Regions from separate parts of the Homo sapiens genome. Here region 2 is linked to region 1. Evidence: promoter capture Hi-C in human tissues and cell types (Jung and others, 2019). All regions are on one chromosome and are shown on one strand. Each heading gives the region's core, a stretch centred on a gene start or on the middle of the fragment in contact. The rest is flanking DNA. Distances are from core to core; before and after follow the strand shown. Region 1 holds the start of MED25 (mediator complex subunit 25). Region 2 overlaps FCGRT (Fc gamma receptor and transporter).

Evidence for each region. The method cuts DNA at HindIII sites, captures the fragments that hold promoters and counts their contacts. A contact is called where the count stands out against the background at its distance.
Region 2: a contact is called between a fragment that was not itself captured here and the fragment with the promoter of MED25 in region 1, in 1 of the 25 tissues and cell types used here (lymphoblastoid cells).

Annotation. Positions count from the first base shown.
Region 1 is chr19:49,813,955-49,820,316 of GRCh38, reverse strand. It overlaps MED25 (mediator complex subunit 25), which reads right to left and starts at 2,028. Exons shown (of 18, transcript NM_030973.4): 1 at 1,842-2,028; 2 at 1,701-1,746; 3 at 1,021-1,145. The coding sequence starts at 1,975. RefSeq lists silencers at 1,820-1,979, 1,906-2,072 and enhancers at 2,110-2,469, 6,348-6,362. The HindIII fragment of the contact is 7,641 bases long and covers 1-5,939 here.
Region 2 is chr19:49,513,635-49,519,712 of GRCh38, reverse strand. FCGRT (Fc gamma receptor and transporter) reads right to left here. Exons shown (of 7, transcript NM_001136019.3): 3 at 5,580-5,831; 4 at 5,227-5,502. Among named protein-coding and RNA genes, the nearest start is that of FCGRT, 4.0 kb to the right of the region's middle. RefSeq lists an enhancer at 4,829-5,542. The HindIII fragment of the contact is 5,709 bases long and covers 1,013-6,078 here.

The sequences.
Region 1 (6,362 bases), core at 779-3,278:
CCTGCTGTCACGCCACTGTAAGCTTGCTTCAAGCTAGCCCACCCCCTTTTGTGAAGTGTGTATAAAAGTCAAGTGCTACCTTTGTTCTGGGCCGTCTTTGGACGTGAGTCGGCTTGGGCCTGAGTGCACTCAATGAAAGATTCTCCTGCTTTAACCCGAGGGCTCTCTCCTGTCGTCCTGAATCCCGCAACAGTGGCTCACCCCTATAATCCCAGCACTTTGGGAGGCTGAGGCAGGCAGATCACATGAGGTCAGGAGTTTGAGACCAGCCTGGCCAACACAGTGAAACTGTCTCTACTAAAAATACAAAAAAAAAAAAAAAAATTAGCTGGGCATAGTGGCGTGTGCCTGTAATCCCAGCTACTTGGGAGGCTGAGGCAGAAGAATCGCTTCAACCCAGGAGGTACAGGTTGCAGTGAGCCACGACTGTGCCACTGCACTACAAGCCTGGGAGACAGAGCAAGACACTGTTTCAAAAAAAAAAAAAAAAATTCTGACCCAAGCCACAGAGGGATCTATCCTGGCTCTGACCCATCCCCCTGCACTGAGGCTACAATGTACCCATCTGGAAAAGGAGGACAGGGGTAGACGGAAAAAGAGAGGACAGAAAGGGGACAATCACACAGGGAGTACAAGGTGGCTGCTGGAGCTCAGCCAGGCCTCCCTGAATGGGAAGGTTTTTCCTACTTCTAAACTGATGGCAACATTGCTGAGCACACAGAAGCCACCACAAAAGTGACTTCTGACAAAAACACAATCACCCTCAAAGTCCTTTCAATCCCTTAATGTATGAGATGTTTCCTGCAGCTCAAACCCAAGCCATCGCTCATTCACGGCCCCTCGCAGGGACCCCAACCACCCCAAGCCATTACTTATTCACAGCCCCTCACGGGGACACCAACCACCCCAAGCCATCACTTATTCACAGCCTCTCACGGGGACACCAACCACCCCAAGCCATCACTCATTCACGGCCCCTCACAGGGACCAGCAACCCACCCCAAGTGGGGGAAAGCTCACTTAATGCCATCGAGCCAGGTGACAAACTCATAGGCGCTGCTGGTGGGAGCGTGACATTGTACGTAGGACTCGGGAGCGCAGTCCACTGTGTTGAACACCACGAGGCTGTACTGGGTCCCCCCATACTGGGAGGGGAGGACAGAAAACTTTTAATCTGGGACCTCAATTCCCTTTTCCCTTAGAGAAGGAATCAGGGCTCCCAGCTTCCCGTTCCTCCAGAACCAGGAACTCCTCAGCTTCCTCCTTCCTCAGACCCAGCAATCTCGGCCCCAGCCCCTTCTCCCTCAGACCCAGGAATCCAGGCCCCCGGCCCCTCCTCCCTCAGACCCAGGAGCCCAGGCCCCAGCACCTCCTCCCTCAGACCCAGGAATCCAGGCCTCAGCTCCTCCTTTCTCAGACCCAGCAGTCCAGACGCCCAGCCCTTCCTCCCTCAGACCCAGGGATCTGGGCCCCTAGCTCCCTCCTCCCTCGGACCCAGGAATCCGGGCCCCAGCGCCTCCACCCTCAGACCCAGGAGTCCAGGCCCCCAGGCCCTCCTCCCTCAGAACAAGGAGTCCAGACCCCCAGCCCCTCCTCCCTCAAACTCAGGAGTCCAGGCCCAGCCCTTTCTCCCTCCCTCAGACCCAGGAGTCCAGGCCCCCGGCCCCTCCTCCCTCAGGCCCAGGAGTCCCTAGACTCACGTCTCCCCCGAAGTCCGTCTCAGCAGGAGGACCACCATTAAAATACCTGTGAGGGTAGGAAGTGAAAGGTCGGAGTCAGGCAAGAAACTGTGCGAAACTGAAGTGGGAGGGCGGGGTTAGAGTCGCGGAAACAGCACTCACTCGATGGCCGGGAGCAGGTAGTGCTTGCGGAGCCCCTCGAAGTAGGGTCCCAGGTTGGCCGTACCCTCAATCACAAACACCACGTCGGCCACCACGCTCCCGGCGCGGGCCGGGCCCTCGGACCCGGGGACCATACCCCGTGCGGTACCCGCCACCACCACTGCAGCCGCAGCCGACGCCGCGGAATGAGCAGAAATGCGCCTGCGCCGCGCGCGCGCTCGCGTCGGGCGGTTTAGGGCTGCTGGGAATGCTGCCATGTTTGTGCGGGGCACGCGCTGAGGCTTCGTTCTAGCTCCATCCTCCTTCGCCCCCACCGCGTGGAAGACTCAGAAAGGGCATAGTTAGCCCTTCTAGGGGCCTGATGGGTTAGACGGAATTATTGTCAAAAGCTAAATAAATTGAAAGCGGCTCAGTCAGCCGCCATCTTTGAGCGGGGCGTCCAGGTCCGCCTCTTGTCTCAAAGGGAGGGGCAGGAGACCTGGTTGCTATGCAACGCGTACGCTGCCCTTGTTTTCGTTTTTGTGTTTTGTTTTTTGTTTGTTTGTTTTTTCGAAACGGGAGTCTCGCCCTGTCGCCCAGGCTGGAGTGCAGTGGCGCGATCTCGGCTCACTACAACCTCCGCTTCCCGGGTTCAAGCGATTCTCCTGCCTCAGCCTCCCGAGTAGCTGGGATTACAGGTGCCCGCAACCACGCCCCGCTAATTTTTGTATTTTTAGTAGAGAAAGAGTTTCACCCTGTGGGCCAGGCTGTTCTCGAACTCCTGACCTCAAGTGATTCGCCCGCCTTGGCTTCCCAAAGTGCTGAGATTACAGGCGTGAGCCACCGCGCCGGGCCCGCTGCCCTTGTTTTGTAACCGTTAGATTAAGTTTCTGGTTCTGTTCTTTCGGGCGTGGGGACTAGGGGAGGGACGCGAGAAGGATCCAATCACATCGGCGGAAACGAGGTTACTAGGCGACGCTTTAAGGTCGTCCTCAACTTGGAAGGGAGGGCAGTTGTTTTCCCCCCCGAAAAGAAGCCGAACACCAAACCAAGTGCGGGTTGCTAAGCAACACCTGAGCGTTGTTTTCTGGGAGAGGAGCCAGAAACTGGCTTAGAACGTAAATACATTCCAGGTGGATTAAAAATGTAAGTGCAACAAATGAAACCCGAAAACTATCTGAAGGGAAAAAATCTTAATGACTGCCATGGAGTTTCTTAGCACTACAGCAAAGTTAGAAAACGTAGTCTTCATTAATTTTTCCCAAAAGACTGTATAAACCAAGTTGAAAAATATACGGCCAACTGGGAAAATCTTTCTAGCGTGTTTGTTGACAGAAATGTACTACGCAAATAAATCTTACTGATGAATAACAATATAGAAAAATAGAAACACTTCATTACTATTATCTTTTAATTTTAATTTTTATTTTTTGAGGCAGGGTCTCTTTCTGTTGTGCAGGTTGAAGTGCAGTGGCCCAATCTTGGCTCACGGCAGCCTCTACTCGCACTGGAGCCACTCTTCAGCCTGTGGAGCAGCTGGGACCACAGCCGCGCACTACCACTTCCAGCTAATTTTTAAATTTTTTGTAGAGATGGGGTCTCACTGTGTTGCTCTGGCGTGTCTCAAACTCCTCGGCTAAAGCGATCCCAGGTGTTAGCCATCGTGCCCTGCCACTTTATATTTGTTTTAATAGAAAGAAACCTGACCAGGGCCGGACGCCGTGGCTCACGCTTGTAATCCCAGCACTTTGGGAGGCCAAGGCGGGCAGATCACCCGAGGTAAGGGGTTCAAGACCAGCCTGGCCAACATGGTGAAACTCCTTCTAACTACTAAAAATAAAAAAATTAGCCGTCCTGGTGGGCGTCTGTAATCCCAGCTACTTGGGAGGCTGAGTCAGGAGATTCTCCTGAACCCGGGAGGCGGAGGTTGCAGTCAACTGAGATTGTGCCACTGCATTCCAGCCTGGGCGGCAGAGTTAGACTCCGTCTCAAAAAAAATAAAAATAAATAAATAAAAAGAAACCTGACTAGTTTCACACAAACACACACACAAAATTTTGAATGGCCAGTAAATATTTTAAAACATAATCTTCGGCCGGGCGAGATGGCTCATGCCTGTAATTCCAGCACTTTGGGAGGTAGAGGCGGGCGCATCACGAGGTCAGTATCACTGGGCGTCGTGGTGCCCACCTGTAATCCCAGCAACTCGAGAGGCTGAGGCAAGGAGAATCGCTTGAACCCGGGAGGCAGAGGTTGCAGTGAGCCGAGATCACGCCACTGCACTCCAGCCTGGGCGACAGAGCGAGACTGTCTCAAAAAAAAAACAAAAAAAACAAAAAAAACAGGCCGGGCGCAGTGGCTCATGCTTGCAATCCCAGCACTTTGGGAGGCCAAGGCGGGCAGATCACGAGGTCAGGAGATCGAGACCATCCTTGCTAACACGGTGAAACCCCGTCTCTACTGAAAATCCAAAAAAAAAAAAAAAAAAATTAGCGGGGCGTGGTGGCGGGCGCCTGTAGTCCCAGCTACTCCGGAGGCTGAGGCAGGAGAATGGCGTGAACCCGGAAGGCGGAGCTTGCAGTGAACAGAGATCGCGCCACTGCACTCCAGCCTGGGGGACGGAGCGAGGCGCTGTCTCAAAAAAAAAAAAGTAATAATAATAATAATAATCACCAATTGAAAAGTACTTACAGAAAGCCTAATGATAAAGGTTTTTACCTTTATCATTTAAAATTATTTTTTATTGGGTTTCTATTTTTCTTTTATCTTTTATTTTTATTTTTATTTTTTTTTATTTTATTATTTTTTTTTTGACAAAATCTCGCTCTGTCGCCCAGACTGGAGTGCAGTGGCGCAGTGTCGGCTCGCTGCAGCCTCTGCCTCCCTGGTTCCACCGATTCTCCTGCCTCTGCCTCCCCAGTAGCTGGGACTACAGGTGTGTGCCACCTCGCAGGCAAATTTTTGTATTTTTGTTAGAGACAGGGTTTTACCATGTTGGCCAGGCTGGTCTCAAACTCCTGACCTCAGGTGATCCACCCGTTTTGGCCTCCTAGAGTGCCCGGATTATAGGCAGTGAGCCTGCGGAAGCCCTTTTTTTTTTGAGACAGTCTCATTTGCTGAAGCTTTTTTTTTTTTTTTTTTTTTGAGATGGAGTTTTGTTCTTGTTGCCCAGGCTGCAGTGCAATGGCACAGTCTCGGCTCACGGCAGCCTCCACCTCCTGGGTTCAAGCGATTATCCTGCCTCAGCCTCCCGAGTAGCTGAGTTTACAGGCATGCGCCACCACGCCCAGCTAATTTTGTATTTTTAGTAGAGCCGGGGTTTCTCCATGTTGGTCAGGCTGGTCTCGAACTCCAGACCTCAGGTGACCCGCCCACCTTGGCCTCCCAAAGTGCTGGGATTACAGGCGTAAGCCGCCGCGCCTGGCCTGCTGAAGCCTTCAAATCCATACAATCATATGATTTTACTCCTGTGTGCTTGGCAGGCATCTTTCCAATTTTATGAACACTTTCTTACATTACTAGTATGCCATTGTTACCTGTAACAAAATTAACTTCTTAGTATCATCCAACAGTAAGTGTGTAATCAAACGTTCCAATTGTCTCAAAATGTGTTTTTACAGTTGGTTTATTTGTATCAGGATCCAAACAAAGACCACACACATATTTAGACATTATGTCTCAAGTTTCTTTTCATCTAGAGCAGCCCCCTCTTTTATGCCTGTGTAACTAACATTTTAATAAAGTTGTAAGGAAGATAAAAGTAATCCAGAGAAAGGAAAAAAAATATCAATAGGCAAGAAGGAAGATTAAAATGGTACCTAGGCCAGGCATGGTGGCTCCTGCCTGTAGTCCCAGCACTTTGAGAGGCTGAGGTGGGTGGATCATTTGAGCCAAAGAGTTTGAGACCAGCTTGGGCAACATGGCGACACCCTGTCTCCACAAAAACTACAAAAATTAGCTGGACGTGGTGGGGGCACACCTGTAATCCCAGCTACTCAGGAGGCTGAGGCAGGAGAATCGCTTGAATCCTGGAGGCGGAGGTTGCAGTTAGCCGAGATGGTTCCACTGCACTCCACCTTGGGCGACAGAACGAGACCCTGTCCCCTCTCCCAAAAAAAAAAAAAAGAGAAAAAGATGTACTTTAGGAAGTAGGAAAATTAAAAATTATGCTAGAAAGATGGGCTGATCTGCAAGAAGGAAGAGGAAGGGAAAAATGAATCATAAATACTTTTGTCATTACAAGTAAATGCTGCCTGTGTAAAATAATAAAAATATTCATAAGGGCATTTTAAAAAGTCAGTAAAATGCTGTCCCAGCACTAGTTGGCTAGTCTGGAGGAGTTCAACAACCTAATGTACATCAATACAGAATTGGTCAAATCAATTTGTCACATCCATAAAATAGATTATAAAAATACATTATTAAGATGAAATAGACATACTTTTTCATGGCAAAAAAGAAAGTGTGGAAATGTTAGTATATTGATCATCTTTGTGAAAACGTATGAATAGTCTACGTTAAACTGTATTTTAGGAAAAAAAT
Region 2 (6,078 bases), core at 2,618-5,117, 300 kb after region 1:
TGTTTGCAGCCTATGCACACAGACATACGCACCAACTACCCAGAAAGTTTTCTTGCCATAAAAATTGAACCAGAATCTGACCAAGCTTCTAGATGGAGCTGCTCCTTTAAAGAAGAGAAGGAGGACTATTTCCAGCAACATCACAGGATGCAAAGGGCAAAATCCAGTCTAGGAGAAACTCAATAGGACATAAACTGACTTTCTTCAAACCACAATTACAGGGGGAAAAAAAACAAAAAGAAAATGGGAAACCTGTAAATCAAAAGACACTCAAGATCACAAGTAACTCAAATTACCTGAAAATGAATCACAGACCTAACTGTAAAATGCAAAACTTTAAAACTCTTAAAATACACAGGAGAAGATCTAGCTGACTTTGGGTTTGGTGATTACTTCTGAGATTAAACACCAAAAGCATAATCCACGATAGAAAAAAAAAAAAGAATAAACTGGATTTCATCAAAGTTAAAAACTTTTGCTTTGTGAAAGGCACAGTTAAAACAATGAAAAGACAACCTAGAGAGTGGAAGAAATATTTGCAAAACACCTATCTGGTAAAAAATTGGAATCCGGCCGGGCGCGGTGGCTCAAGCCTGTAATCCCAGTACTTTGGGAGGCTGAGGCAGGCGGATCAGGAGGTCAGGAGATCGAGACCATCCTGCCTAACACAGTGAAACTCTGTCTCTACTAAAAATACAAAAAATTAGCCGGGCGTGGTGGTGGGCGCCTGTAGTCCCAGCCACTCGGGAGGCTGAGGCAGGAGAATTGGTGCAACTTGGGAGGTGGAGGTTGCAATGAGCTGAGATCGCGCCACTGCACCCCAGCCTGGGTGACAGAGCGAGACTCCGTCTCCAAAAAAAAGAAAAAAACAAAAATACGGCCGAGCGCGGTGGCTCACGCCTGTAATCCCAGCACTTTGGGAGGCCGAGGTGGGTGGATCACCTGGGGTCGGGAGTTCGAAACCAGCCTGGCCAACATGGTGAAACTCTGTCTCTACTAAAGATACAAAAAATTAGCAGGGCGTGGTGGCTTGCGCCTGTAATCCCAGCTACTTGGGACGCTGAGGCAGGAGAATTGCTTGAACCCGGGAGGCAGAAGTTGCAGTGAGCCGAGTTCGTGCCTCTGCACTCCAGTCTGGGCGACAGAGTAAGACTTTGTCTCAAAAAACAAACAAACAAAAATAGCTAGGCCTGATGGCGTGCACCTGTGGTCCTACCTACTGGGGAGGCTGAAGTGGGAGAATTACTTGAGCCCAGGAAGTTCAGACTGCAGTGAGCTATGATTGCACCACTGGACTCCAGTCTGGTGACAGAGCAAGACCCTGTCTCAAAAAGGAAAAAAAAAAAAAAAAAGAAAGAAAGAAAAATTCAACAATCAGAAAAAGACACTGAAAAGACAACAAAATGTGTGGACCTTGCTGGATGCTGATTCAAACTTTAAAAAACATTTACAGTCAGGAATATGGGAACAAAAACTGGACATCTGATGCCATTAAAGAGTTAATTGGTTGTAGGTGTGATGATGGTTTTGGTATTAATTTTTTTTAAATGCCCTTACCTAGTAGAGTTACATACTAAAGGACTTATCAACAAAACAGTCTGGCTGGGCACGGTGACTCCCGCACTTTGGGAGGCTGAGGAGGGCAGATCACTTGAGGTGGAGGGTTCGAGACCAGCCTGGCCAACATAGTGAAATCCCGTCTCTACTAAAAATACAAAAATTGGCCAGGCGCGGTGGCTTATGCCTGTAATCCCAGCACTTTGGGAGGCCAAGGTGGGTGGATCACGAGGTCAGGAGTTCAAGACCAGCCTGGCCAATATGGTGAAACCTCATCTCTACTAAAAATACAAAAATTGGCTGGGCGAGGTGGCGGGCACCTGTAATCCCAGCTACTCAGGAGGCTGAGGCAGGAGAATTGTTTGAACCTGGGAGGCGAAGCTTGCAGTGAGCCGAGACTGAGCCACTACACTCCCGCATGACAGAGTGAGACTCCATCTCAAAATACAAACAAACAAAGAAAAAAACACTGTGATGTCTGAGATTTACCAAAGCTTGATGTGAAGTGGGGTGGGGAAGTGAGTGAGGATGTGCGTGAAATTCAAAAAACCATGGGTTGATAATTATTAAGTCTCAGTGATGGGATGCTCGCTTCCTTCCTTCCTTCCTTCCTTTCCTTCCTCTTTCTCTCTCCCTCTCCTCTCTCTTTCTTTCCTTCTTTCTTTGAGACAGAGTCTTGCTTTGTTGCCCAGGCTGGAGTGCAGTGGCTTGATCTCGGCTCACTGCAACCTCTGCTTCCCGGGATCAAGTGATTCTCCTGCCTCAGCCTCCCGAATAGCTGGAATTACAAGCACCCACCACCGCACCCGGCTAATTTTTGTATGTTTAGTAGAGATGGGGTTTCACTCTGTTGGCCAGGCTTATCTCAAACTCCTGACCTTAAGTGATCTGCCCACCTCGGCCTCCCAAAGTGTTGGAATTACAGGCGTGAGCCACTGCACCTGGCCACCATATTTTTTTTCTTTTTGAGACAGGGTCTGGCTCTGTCATCTGGGCTGGAGTGCAGAGTTGCAATCAGTTCACTACAGCCTCAAACTCCTGAGCTCAAGCGATCCTCCTGCCATAGCCTCCCCAGTGGCTGGGACTAGAGGCACATACCACCATGCCAGGCTAATTTTTTGAGTTTTTAGTAGAGATGCGGTCTTACTATGTTGCCCAGGCTGGTCTTGAACTCCTGGGATCAAGCAATCCACCTGCCTCGGCCTCCCAAAGTTCTGGGATTATAGGCGTGAGCCACCGTGTCTGGTCCGTTTTATACTATTGTTTCTACTTAAGTGTGGTTTGAAACTTTCCCTCCTTAAGCCAGGAGTGGTGGCTCATGCCTGTAATCCCAGCACTTTGGGAGGCCAAGGTAGGCAGATCACGAGATCAGGAGTTCGAGACCAGCCTGGCCAGCATGGTGAAGCCCCCGTCTCTACTAAAAATACAAAAATTAGCCAGGCATGGTGGTGTGTGCCTGTAATCCCAGCTACTCGGGAGGCTGAGGTAGGAGAATTGCTTGAACCTGGGAGGCGGAGGTTGCAGTGAGCCAAGATTGCGCCACAGTACTGCAGTCTGGGCGACAGTGCAAGAGTCTGTCTCAAAAACAACAACAACAACAACAAAGGCCAGGAGCAGTGGCTCACGTCTGTAATTCCAGCACTTTGGGAGGCCGAGGCAGGCAGATCACGAGGTCAAAAGATCGAGACCATCCCGGCCAACATGGTAAAACCCTGTCTTTACTAAAAAAAAAAAAACAAACAAAAATTAGCCAGGCGTGGTGGTGCACGCCTGTAGTCCCAGCTACTCGGGAGGCTGAGGCAGGAGAATCACTTGAACCTGGGAGGCGGAGGTTGCAGTGAGCCGAGATCGCGCCATTGCACTCCAGCCTGGGCGACAAGAGCGAAACTCTGTCTCAAAAAAAGAAAGAAATTTTCCCTACTTAGGAAAGAAAGAAGACAATTAAAGAAAAACTACCTGGTTGAGTCTCAACTTCTCCTTTGTGGCACTTGGAATGAATATCTGTGCACATCCCCAGCTGGTATCTATCTTTGTCCAGCAGCCTGGGAGCCACAGAGGGTGAATGTGTGTCACTTCCCTCTTTGCTCAAGGCCCAGAGCAGCGCCTGGCAGTGCAAATGCTCTTGGCCAACAGTTGAATGAGTGGGGATCTGGGGGCCTCCGGGGAGGAAACAGTGAACTCTGCCCTACAGAGCTGAGGAAAGGCTTCTCAGAGGAAGTGATATCCAGCCCTGACCTTGAAGAATAAGGAGGGCTGGAGTATATGCAGAGAGGGGGAAGGGTGGAACAGAGAGGTGCCAGGGGAAACTGGATGAGCAAATGCCCAGAGGGAGGAGATTGCTTATGTTGGGTGGCTGGAGCGTAGACTCTGATGGCTGCGTAGAGACAAGTGCTGCTGCGTGGGTCTGATGAGGACATTAAGGCAAGGAAGGCCAAGCACAGTGGCTCACACCTGTCATCCCAGCACCCTGGGAGGCCAAAGTGAGAGAATCACTTGAGGCCAGGAGTTTGAGTCTGGCCTGGGCAGCATAGTGAGATGCCACCTCTACAACAAATTTTAAAAATTAGCCAGGTATGGCCAGACGCGGTAGCTCACTCCTGTAATCCCAGCACTTTGGGAGGCGGAGGTGGGTGGATCACTTGAGGTCAAGAGTTTGAGACCAGCCTAGCTACCATGACGAAACCCCATCTCTACTAAAAGTATAAAAATTAGCCAGACATGGTGGATGTGCCTATAGTGCCAGCTACTCATGAGGCTGAAGCAGCGGAATCCCTTAAACCCAGGAGGCGGAGGTTGCAGCGAGCTGAGATCACCCTGCTTCACACTAGCCTGGGCAACAGAGATTGTGCGGAAAAAAAAAAATTAGCCAGTTATGGTGGTATGCACCTGTAATCTCAGCTACTCAGGAGACCAAAGCAGGAGAATCGCTGGAGCCTAGGAGTTCAAGACCAGCCTGGGCAACATAGTGAGACACCGTGTCTACAAAATATAAAGTTAGCCAGGTGTGATGATGCTGGGCTGTGGTCCCAGCTACTTGGTTGGCTGAGGTGGGAGGACTGCTTGAGCCTGGGAGGTTCAGGCTGCAGTGAGCCGAGATGGTGCCACCACATTCCAGCCTGGGGTGACAGAGCGAGAATCTGTCTCAAAAAAAAAAAAAAGGGGGGAGCCAGGAGCAGTAGCTCATGCCTGTAATCCCAGCACTTTGGGAGGCTGAGGTGGGCGGATCACCTGAGGTCAGGGGTTTGAGACCAGCCTGACCAACATGAAGAAACCCCGTCTCTACTAAAAATACAAAATTAGCCGGGCATGGTGGTGCATGCCTGTAATCCCAGCCACTCGGGAGGCTGAGGCAGGAGATCACTTGAACCCGGGAGGCGGAGGTTGTGGTGAGCCGAGATCGCGCCATTACACTCCAGCCTGGGCAACAAGAGCGAAACTCCGTCTCACAAAAAAAAAAAAAAAAAGAAGGCAAGGAAGGAAGCCAGGAGTTTGTCCTGGGGGGCGCTGGGGAGCCATGGGAGGGCTGAGTGTAGAAGGACCCCTGAGGAATGGGGGGGCAGAGCGTGGGCTGCAGTGGGAGGCTGATGGAGGGTCCTGGCAGGGGAACTGAGGCAGGTGGGCATGACGGGAGAGAGGACAGAACAGCCTGCGGCTGCAGATCCGGCTCACCCTTCCACTCCAGGTTTCCGCGGCCCCTCTCCAGGTGCTCCCGCAGGCGGTGCGGGCAGGAGAATAGCAGGAAGGTGAGCTCCTTGTTGGCCGCCTTGTCCTGCTGCTGCCACCGCTGACTGATAGCCAGGGCCTCGGGCCAGTCCCCACCCCAGGTGCCCTGCTTGAGGTCGAAATTCATGAACTCCTCGCCGTTCAGGGCGAACTTGGCGGTGGGCACCGAGGTGTTGTCAGGGCCCAGTTCACAGCCCAGCAGGCCCTGCAGAGTGTAGGGACCTGGGGCGCCCAAACACAGGTAAGCGGGGCCCCGGAGCATGGACCCGGCCCCTTGCCCCTCCAGACCGGAATCTCACCTTTTCCCCCCAAAGCTTTGAAAGCTTCCAGAAAGAGCTTCTCCTTGATCCTCAGATCTGTGGTCTCTTTCTCCCAATACCAGGACACCTGGTTTTCCCAGACCCAAGCTCCACAGGGCTCCGCCTCGCCCCGCAGGCTATTGTAGCTCAGGTACTGCTGCGGGCCCAGCCAGCCGGACACCCAGAAGGCAGGAGTCCCCGGGGCAGGCGAGGACACCGCGGTAAGGTGGTACAGGAGGGAGAGGTGGCTTTCTGCAGACAGAAACAGAGCTGAAGGGAGCACACGGGCGGGGAACTAGACTGCAGTGGGACAGATACCCAGGGAGGGAGAAGAATCTATTATGGAGGGAGGGGGACAGATTCAGAGAGAGGGGACAGAAACCCGGGGGGGGGGGGACAGAGACCCAGAGAGAGAGAGACAAGAGACCCAGAAAGAGAGGGGGACAGAGACCCAGAGAGAGAGAGGGAAACAGACACAAGAGGCGACAGGTGGTTCCCA